Linked DNA regions of Homo sapiens: region 1 is linked to region 2. Evidence: promoter capture Hi-C in human tissues and cell types (Jung and others, 2019). All regions are on one chromosome and are shown on one strand. Each heading gives the region's core, a stretch centred on a gene start or on the middle of the fragment in contact. The rest is flanking DNA. Distances are from core to core; before and after follow the strand shown. Region 1 overlaps KNTC1 (kinetochore associated 1). Region 2 holds the start of HCAR2 (hydroxycarboxylic acid receptor 2).

What was found. Contacts are between HindIII fragments. The study calls those that stand out against the background at their distance.
Region 1: a fragment that was not itself captured here is called in contact with the fragment with the promoter of HCAR2 in region 2 in 2 of the 25 tissues and cell types used here (mesenchymal stem cells and thymus).

The regions. Positions count from the first base shown.
Region 1 is chr12:122,540,625-122,545,700 of GRCh38, forward strand. KNTC1 (kinetochore associated 1) reads left to right here. Exons shown (of 64, transcript NM_014708.6): 6 at 1,426-1,503; 7 at 2,976-3,010; 8 at 3,535-3,645. Among named protein-coding and RNA genes, the nearest start is that of KNTC1, 16 kb to the left of the region's middle. The HindIII fragment of the contact is 5,850 bases long and covers 168-5,076 here.
Region 2 is chr12:122,701,748-122,706,642 of GRCh38, forward strand. It overlaps HCAR2 (hydroxycarboxylic acid receptor 2), which reads right to left and starts at 1,610. Exons shown (of 1, transcript NM_177551.4): 1 at 1-1,610. The coding sequence starts at 1,536. The coding sequence ends at 445. The HindIII fragment of the contact is 9,565 bases long and covers 77-4,895 here.

The DNA of each region.
Region 1 (5,076 bases), core at 1,843-4,342, 160 kb before region 2:
GTTACCAAGGAGACATTATATTCTTTTAAAATGTGTTTCTGGGCTTCAGTATATTATTATATTTTTACTTCAACAAGTGTTAACTGGGCCTTAGTTTATTTTGATATATCTGAGATTTTTTTTTCTGGCACATGAAGTTTGTTGTTTTAATAAAAGTTTCAAAAGAAGTTAACAATGTTTTTGCAAATAACCTACTAGTTCTTTGTAAATAAGTTTTATCTGTAACATTACTATAATATTTGATCATTAGAATTTAAATGAGCAGGCTGTGTGTGGTGGCTCACATCTGTAATTCTAGCACTTTAGGAGGCTGAGGTGGGAGCATTGCTTCAGTCTAGGAGCTCGAAACCAGCCTGGATAATATAGAGAGACCGCCACCTCTACAAAAAATAAAAAATTAGCCACATGTGTTGGTGTGTGTCTGTAGTCCCACTTTCTCAGGAGGCTGAGTTGGGAGGATCTCTTGGGCCTGCAGTGAGCTGCGATCGCTGCACTGCAGTGTCTGGCCTGCGAGTGCAGGCCATTGCACTCCAGCCTGGGAGATAGATTGAGACCCTGTCTCAAAAACAAAAAACAAAAAAAAAACCTTCAAATTGACATATTTTTAAGGTAGTTCCAGATACTGTTTGTTTGTGCTTGCCTGCCTGCCTGCCTGCCTGCCTGCCTTCCTTCCTTCCTTCCTTCCTTCCTTCCTTCCTTCCGTCCTTCCTCTGTCTCTCCCTCTCTTTTTTTTTTTTTCTGAGATGGAGTCTCACTCTGTCACCCAGGCTGGAGAGCAATGACGCAATTTCAGCTCACTGCAACCTCCACTACCCGGGTTCAAGCAATTCTCCTGCCTCAGCCTCCTGAGTAGCTGGGACTACAGGCACGCACCACCACAACCAGCTAATTTTTATATTTTTAGTAGAGACGGGGTTTCACCATGTTGGTCAGGCTGGTCTCGAGCTCCTGACCTCGTGATCTACCTGCCTTGGCCTCCCAAAGTGTTGGCATTACAGGCGTGAGCCACTGCGCCCCGCCTCTTTCTGTCTTTCTCTCTTTCTTCAAAAGCCACGTTCAAACAGACACTGGTTTAAATTTTATATCCATGTGCCTTTTAAAGTAACTGATTCCCAGCCGTGAGCAGTGGCTCAGGCCTGTAATCCCAGCACTTTGGGAGGCTGAGGCAAGCAGATCATGAGGTCAAGAGATCAAGACCATCCTGGCCAACATGGTGAAACCCTGTCTCTACTAAAAATACAAAAATTAGCTGGGCATGGTGGTGCACGCCTGTAGTCCCAGCTACTTGGGAGGCTGAGGCAGGAGAATTGCACCCTAGAGGCGGAGGTTGCAGGGAGCCGAGATCGCGCTGCTGCACTCCAGCCTAGCGACAGAATGAGACTCCATCTCAAAAAAAAGAAACTGATTCTGATTTTATTTCAATAGGTACCTATTATATGCTACTTCTTACATACAGTGGATTTTTTTGTATTACAAACCTTCAGCTTTTAAAAATTCAACAAGGTAAGTAATACATTATATTTTTATTATTGATTTGCAGCAATATTTACTAGTTTTATTAATGTAATAGTAAAATTTTAAGTACTCTCTTTAAGCTTATTTTATCTTACTTGTATTTAGTTATAATTGGGTATACTGTTAAGTATTCAGAATACAGTTATTCTCCTCTGTTAGAGCTGGAACAGTATCTGAATAAATGTAATTTTGATATGGCCTTCAAGGAGCTTAGTTTGGGGAGATAAGCTTCAACAGTTTAGTTGGGGAGACAAGACATATGCTAGCACAATAGTAAATACTTTTTAATGTGGTGGATGAACCTGGAAATGGAAATGACTATGTAGTGTTAATAGTGCAGAACAGGGCTGGCGTGGTGGCTCATGCCTGTAATCCTGGCACTTTGGGAGGCCAAGGCGGGCAGATCACCTGAGGTTGGGAGTGCAAGACCAGCCTGACCAACATGAAGAAACCCTGTCTCTACTAAAAATACAAAATTAGCCAGACAGGGTGGCAGGCGCCTGTAATCCCAGCTAGTCGGGAAGCTGAGGCAGGAGAATAATTTGAACCCAGGAGGCAGAGGTGCGGTGAGCTGAGATCACGCTGTTGCACTCCAGCCTGGGCAGCAAGAGCGAAACTCTGTCTCAAAAAAAAAAATATATAGTGCAGAACAATAATGTAAAATATGTTTTAAGCTAGTAGTCTGGACCATTTATCCCTCTAAGCCAAGTGAAATTATTTGAGGAATGGATTTGGAACAGGTATTTAACATTTTGTTTTATTTTATTATTTTTATTTATTTATTTATTTTTGAGATGGAGTCTTGCTCTGTCGCCCAGGCTGGAGTACAGTGGTATGATATCGGCTCACTGCAACCTCCGCTTCCCAGGTTCAAGTGATTCTTGTGCCTCAGTCTCCCAAGTAACTGGGATTACAGGTGCGCACCACCACACCTGGCTAATTTTTGTATTTTTACTAGAGGCGGGGTTTCACCATGTTGGCCAGGCTGGTCTCGAACTCCTCACGTCAAGTGATTTGCCCGTCTTGGCCTCCCAAAGTGCTGGGATTGTAGGCATGAGCCACTGCGCCCGGCCTAAGTGATATTTTTAAAATACTGACTTGCCAGGCCTGTGCTACGTCTTGGGTATATGACAAGATTGAAGATTTGTTTTCCATAGCTTCATGATGGAGCTAGAAACGTAAGAGCTATTCCAAACAGTGAGAAGCACAGGAGAGTTGGAGTAGGGAGAAGATCCCCTTAGTAGGAAGAGAGGTGGTAAGGGTAGGTATGGAGAGGTACTGGCTGGTGCCCTGAATCTAACATGTCACAGTTAGCGTATTTTGGTCAGGGGCAAAACTTAATTCTCACCAGTGTTCTTTGAACTAGATTGTATTTAATTTCACCTTGACACAAAACAGGTGACTTGTATTATTTTGTAGATTAATACTATACATTTAGCCTGCTTTCTTTTTTAATGCAGCAATTGAGAATGTAGACTTCAGTACAGCAAAAAAGGTAAGAAAATAAATCCATATTGTCCTCTTAAAAAAATTACATTTAATATTAATGTAGTAGAATGTTTCTGTATATAATTGGTCTACTTCTTGATATTTTAGAAATTATTATGATATAACATTTTAATAACATTTCTATTTAAAAATACATTTATGCCCGTAATCCCAGCACTTTGGGAGGCCAAGGGGGCGGATCACCTGAGGTCCGGAGTTCGAGACCAGCCTGACCAACTGGAGAAACCCCATCTCTACTAAAAAATACAAAATTAGCCGGGGGGTGGTGGCGCATGCCTGTACTCCCAGCTACTCAGGAGGCTGAGGCAGGGAATTACTTGAACTCGGGAGGCAGAGGTTGTGGTGAGCCGAGATTGCGCCATTGCACTCTAGCCTGGGCAACAAGAGCAAAACTCTGTCTCCAAAAAAAAAAAAAAAAATTTATAACTGATTGATATCAACTGATTTTAGTGATTTTATGGAGCATAAATATGTATTATATATATGACGTTGTTGTTTTTAATTTTGCAGTTACAAGGACAAATCAAGTCCAGTTTTATTTCTACTGAAAATTATCATACTCTTGGTTGTCTCAGTCTTGTGGCTGGAGATTTAGCAAGTGAAGTTCCTGTGATAATTGGGGTAATTGTTTTTATAAAGTTTTGTTTTTTGTTGCCTAAAGCATTTTCTCAGAAAAATGTTTTTGTTTTGGTTAAATTGCAAAATAATTTGTAACATATAACCGAAACAAGGAAATTATAAAATTAAGGTAATTAAAAATAACTCAATAAATAAATTTCTGTCTTGGAAAAAATATTGCATCTTTACTTTCCCTAGTCTTTACCTGAAAGTACAGCATTTTTTTCAATTATGAGAGCAGACAAAAACGATAGAAAACAAAACCAAAAAATTCCATTGTTACAGTACCTGTGACTTTGTCACTAATGGAAAAACAGCACATTATTGCAGCTGTCTTGAAATAAATATTTACACACCACTACTTCAAAATTATGGTCATCATAGTTTTTCTAATAGGAAGTGTAATTACTACTGGTGACATACTCACAGGGACTGCTGATTCTACTGCTTTTTGTTTTTTGGGGTTTTTGTGGCCTACATTCATAAGTGAAAGAAATTCTGTTTCAGATGGAGATTAGTGAAAATAAAGATGTAAATTTTTTGCCCATCCAGCTTCACAAATCCGTTGAATCTTGAAATAATTCAGGTTAAGAACCTTAGTGTTAGAGAATGGTCCTAAAGAGTAAAGTGTCTTTGATGTAATGCCTGCCTCCTAAGTGATTCTACGTTATTCTTAGTCTTGGCTAGCTAGGCTACTTGCAAGTTTTGTTATTAGTGAAATGGGAACGTGGACAAGGATGCACGTAGAAAAGCACAATTCATTCACAACCATTGGCATGTATACATTGCTGTATAATGTCTTATATCTCATGTTACATGTAAAAAGTAACATTTCATTATTGGTATGTCACTTCCAGTAACCCTGATCATAATTTCTTTAAATTTTGGGGGAAAATACCTAATGTTATATTCAAAGAATAGGCAGAAACTCAGTATAATTACGTTTACAACATTTTTACTTGCCAAATTTATATATTAAGAAGTAGTCAGCTGCGTGTCATGGCATGCTCCTATGGTCCCAGCTACTTGGGAAGCTGAGGCAGAAGAATTGCGTGAGCCCAGGAGTATCAGGCTGCAGTAGCTCTGATCACACCTGTGATCACCCCACTTCACTGCGGCCTGGCAACACAGTGAGATCCTGTCTCTAAAAAGAGAAGAAACAAAAAAGAGAGAAAAGAAGCAGTCATATTTCCACATTGAGCATATCTAATTTAACATTTCACCAGGGTTTCAAAGAATTTAAAATTAATATTTATAAATTTTTTTTCCAAATATCTGTGGTATTTTAATGAAAATACTTATCAAAGACTATATTTTAATCATAATCCTGGAAGAGGTCTTAAAAGTTCACTGCATGTCTTTAGTGCTAGTTGCCTAAATACGCTCATTAAATATTTATGTGAAGGCTGGCATGGTGGCTCATGCCTGTAATCC
Region 2 (4,895 bases), core at 360-2,859:
CAACACAATTCCCTCCAATCTCAGCTCTCCTTATCCCTGCTAGAGCTCACAAGCAGGCTAGATATCACCCCAGGAGCTGAGCCCCCTCCAGTCTGAGGCAGATGTGGGAAGAAGGCCAACAAGTCACAAGTAGATCTCTGGCTCCAACTCTGCTCAGCAGAAATGCCTACAATTTGCCCATCTTCAGTCCTGCGAGCGTCAGAGATGAAGCAAAAGTTTCAGATGCCTAGAAGCTTTACTCTCTATTCCTCCAGGATTCCTGCGGTCACACCTTGCAACCAGTCTCCCACTCATCTGCCACCGTTTCCCTAAATCGCATTCTCTGAATCTGGAAGTTCCAGGAAACCTTAGGCCGAGTCCAGTGACATTACTCGATGCAACAGCCCAACTGTTTCTCCAGAGATCCTGGTTCTTGGTGACAATGTCCCTTCTTGGCATGGTTATTTAAGGAGAGGTTGGGCCCAGATAAGAGGGGCTCCATGGCTCACCGGAGTTGGCCATTAACGCCTCTGGAGCGCCTCTGGTTTTGTTGGGGTCCCCTGTGAGCTCGACGCTCGTGCTGCGGTTATTATCTGGCTCACCTGTCATCTTCCTCTGGAGGCAGCGGTTGATCAAAGTGGAGAAGAAGTTGGGAAAGGATGGGCTGGAGAAGTAGTACACCACGGGGTCCAGCATGCTGTTCATGTAGGTGAAGCTGAGAGTGATAAAGAACGCCAGGTCCACCGAGCGGTACACTTCACAATTCTGCGTGCCCGAAGTGTGCAGGAGCCAGAAGATGCGGATCCGCACAACCACGCTGGGAAGGAAGCAGATGACAAAGACGATGGCCACCACCATGATGAAGGTGATGGCTCTCTTGATCTTGGCATGCCGGTCCATTTGTCTCTGCCGCAGGCTCCAGATAATTCTGGCTGAGCAGAACAGGATGATGCCCAGGGGCAGGAAGAACTCCAGGAGGAACATGGCTTCGTGCCACTGGAAGGTATGGCAGATGCTGAAGCTGCTGCACAAATTTGCACCGCCATTCTGGATCGGCATCTTCTTCTTCAGGAGGTGGACTGTCAGGCCAATAGTGATGCCCCACAGAAGGCAAGAGATGATGGCTGCTGTCCGATTGGAGATCTTGTTCAGGGCGTGGTGGGGATGGACCACCCGGAAATACCTGTCTACCGCCACCACCGTGAGGAAGATGATGCTGCCCTGGCGGTTCATAGCCAACATGAAGAGCATCAGCCGGCAAGGGATGTCCCCAAACTTCCAGTCCCAACGCCTCACATAGTTGTCCATCAGGAAGGGCAGGCAGATGATCAGTAGAAAGTCAGCCACTGCCAGGTTGAACAGGAAAATCCGGCTGGATTTCCAGGACTTGAGGTGGAAACAGAAAATCCACAGGGCAAGGCCATTGCCCAGAAGCCCGAAGATAAACTCCAGCCCCAACACCGGCGGCAACACCTTGACAATGAAGTCATCTCGGAACACACAGCAGTTCTTCTTGTCTATTTCCAGAAAGTGATCCTGCAGATGGTGCCGATTCATGAGTGCGGCTAGTGAGTCCGATGGAGCGCCTCGCCTAGTGAATGCTCCAGCAAGGAGGTGTGTGTCTGTGTGGTGAACGTGTGGTTCCACGCCTGCCTTTATGTCATGTCAGGGTGTTGAAATAGATGACTGAATGGTTACCAGGAAACTACGAAATCTCTAAAAAAAAAAAAAAAAAAAAAAGCCAGCAAGGCTCTTATGCAACCTGCTGTTTGCATAAACAAGTAATAAGAATCCCCTGGGCAGACGGGAACCCACAAAATGTCTTAAATGTAAAGGATAAGTTTAGGCAAGCCGACTGTCATTCGAAAATCAGTGAAACATGAAGGACATCCCTTTGGAAGGCTGGGTGCTTGTATGCCAACTGAGTACTCAACGTTGCAGAATTAATTCACCGTCATCTGCTTGGCTGACATAATTAACAAAACAACAACAATAGCAATAACAATTTTTGGTGCCAAACAGTGAGGTTTTCCAGAAACACTAAGAATTAGCATGAAAAATTAACAGGCATATGACATAAACAGTAGCAGACATATGATTTCTTTTGGAAATGCTGAGAAGACAGTAGTTGCCTGTTTGATGAGGACAGACTGGTTGAATTTGACCACTTTTCCTATGCTACCTTTCTGTACAAACATGGAGTGCTTTTCCATATCAGAACTCTGCCATTCATCTCCAGTTAGGAAAAAAAAAATAGCCTGCTGGAGAGTGTAATATTTCATAAGACATTTGAAAACTTGAGCCCAGTTTCAGTGGCATGTTAACATAAGTTGGGTTTTTTGTTTGTTTATATTAGATTTTGATATGCTTCTGTGCTCAAGTGATTTATTTTTAAGTATGTGATTTCTTTTTTTTGCAAACTTTGAATTAATGAGAAAAAGGATTCATGAGGCTAGTCGTAAGCTGTAGCAAATCGGGTGTACTTTGTGCTACAAATTTGTTTTTCTGTGTCGCTCTGCATGAAGAGGGGTACCTTAGGATAGAGCATGGGGTTAGTACCCCATAAGCTGTCTGTTCTAGACAGCCCAGGAAACTGGTCAGTAAGAAAGTTGGTTGCAGGTCCCTGAAACAAACAAAAAACTGGATGAGGTCTCTAACTTGTTTTATGTCCTTGGGACCTTAGGATGTGATTTTTTTTTTTTGAGACAGAGTCTCACTCTGTCACCCAGGCTGGAGAACGGTGGAACAATCTCAGCTCACTGCAACCTCCGCCTCCCAGGTTCAAGCAATTCTTCTGCCTCAGCCTCCTGAGTATCTGGGACTACAGGCGTGCGCCACCACGCCCAGCTAATTTTTTGTATTTTTAGTAAAGACGAGGTTTCACTGTGTTGGCCAGGCTGGTCTCAAACTCCTGACCTTGTGATCCGTCTGCCTCGGCCTCCCAAAGTGCTGGGATTACAGGCGTGAGCCACCGCGCCTGGCCGTGATTTTTTTTAATGAACTTTATTTTTTGGGGCAGTGTTAGATTCACAGCAAAATGGAGCAGAAAGTACGGACGGTCCTGTGCACTCTGTCTCCACACACGCAAAACCTCCCCCACTAAGTATGTGATATTTTCAAAGCCCCCATTTTTGTAAAATTAAACTTAGAGTGACAGGACCTAAGAGGACATGGAACCCCGCCTTGTAGCGGGACACCATTGCACACATTGTTTCTCTGCTTGTCAGTGCGATTGGGTGTCATCCTATAGAATGTTTTCTCCCTTTAATATTTTGGTCTTATGAATTCTTCCATGCAGGAGGTTTCTAAATTGTGTTCCTTCTACTTTGAGTTATAAAATGTAAATTTCTTCCTTTTTTTTTTTTTTTCTGTTTTTTCTTTTGAGATGGAGTTTCGCTCTGTCGCCCAGGCTGGAGTGCAGTGGCATGATCTTGGCTCACTGCAACCTCTGCCTCCCGGGTTCATGCCATTCTCCTGCCTCAGCCTCCCAAGTAGCTGAGACTACAGGTGCAAGCCACCATGCCTGGCTAATTTTTGTATTTTTAGTAGAGATGGATTTCACCATTTTGGCCAGGCTGGTCTTGAACTCCTGACTTCAAGTGATCCTCCCGCCTTGGCATCCCAAAATGCTGGGATTGCAGGTGTGAACCATCGCTGCCACCATAAGATGTCAATTTATTTCTTTAGCTGCAAACGCAGGTTCAATAATAGGAGCTTATAGACTCTTCACAGTAAACTAGAGTCAGGATGACCTAATATTAGATTCCCATAGAACTACAAGTACTTGATGATGATCCAGGTGAGATGAAGACGATGATGAAGAAGATGATGGTGGCACCTACATTATAGAGAGCTTCCCATGTGCTGGAACCCATACTCAGTGCTTTTTTTTTTTTGAGACAAAGTCTCGCTCTTGCCTCACTGCAAGCTCCGCCTCCCGGGTTCACGCCATGCTGCCTCAGCCTCCCGAGTAGCTGGGACTACAGGCACCCACCACCATGCCCAGCTAATTTTTTATATTTTTAGTAGAGACGGGATTTCACCGTGTTAGCCAGGAGCTCAGTGCTTTTATAGTTGCTTGTTTCACCCTGACTGTAGCCCATGTGGAAGGTATTATTACTGATTCTGATTTCAAAATGAGGAAAGTGAAGCTCAGAGAGGATAAAATATTCAGGGCCACCCAGCTCATAAGAGCAGAGCATGGCCGGGCATGGTGGCTCACGCCTGTAATCCCAACACTTTGGGAGGCCGAGACGGGAGGATCACAAGGTCAGGAGATCCAGACCATCTTGGCCAATATGGTGAAACCCCGTCTCTACTAAAATTTACAAAAATTAGCTGGGTGTGGTGGCGGGCGCCTATAATCCCAACTACTTGGGAGGCTGAGGCAGGAGAATCGCTTGAACCAGGGAGTTGGAGGTTGCAGAGAACCGAGATTGTGCCACTGCACTGCAGCCTGGGTGACAGAGTGAGACTCCACCAAAAAAAAAAAAAAAAAAAAAAAAAGCCGGGCACGGTGGCTCACGCCTGTAATCCCAGCACTTTTGGAGGCTGAGGTGGGTGGATCACGAGGTCAGGAGTTTGATACCAGCCTGGTCAACATGGTGAAACCCCATCTCTACTAAAATACAAAATTTAGCTGGGTGTGGTGGCACATGCCTGTAATCCCAGATACTCAGGAGGCTGAGGCAGGAGAACTGCTTGAACTGGGACCCAGGAGGCGGAGGTTGCGGTGAGCCGAGATCACACCATTGCACTACAGCCTGGGCAACAAGAGGGAAACTCTGTCTCAAAAAAAAAAAAACAACAACAAACACAGGCGTGGTGGTTCATGCCTATAATCCCAGCACTTTGGGAGACCAAGGCAGGAGGATTGCTTGAGCCCAGGAGTTCAAGACTAGTCTAGGCAATAAAGT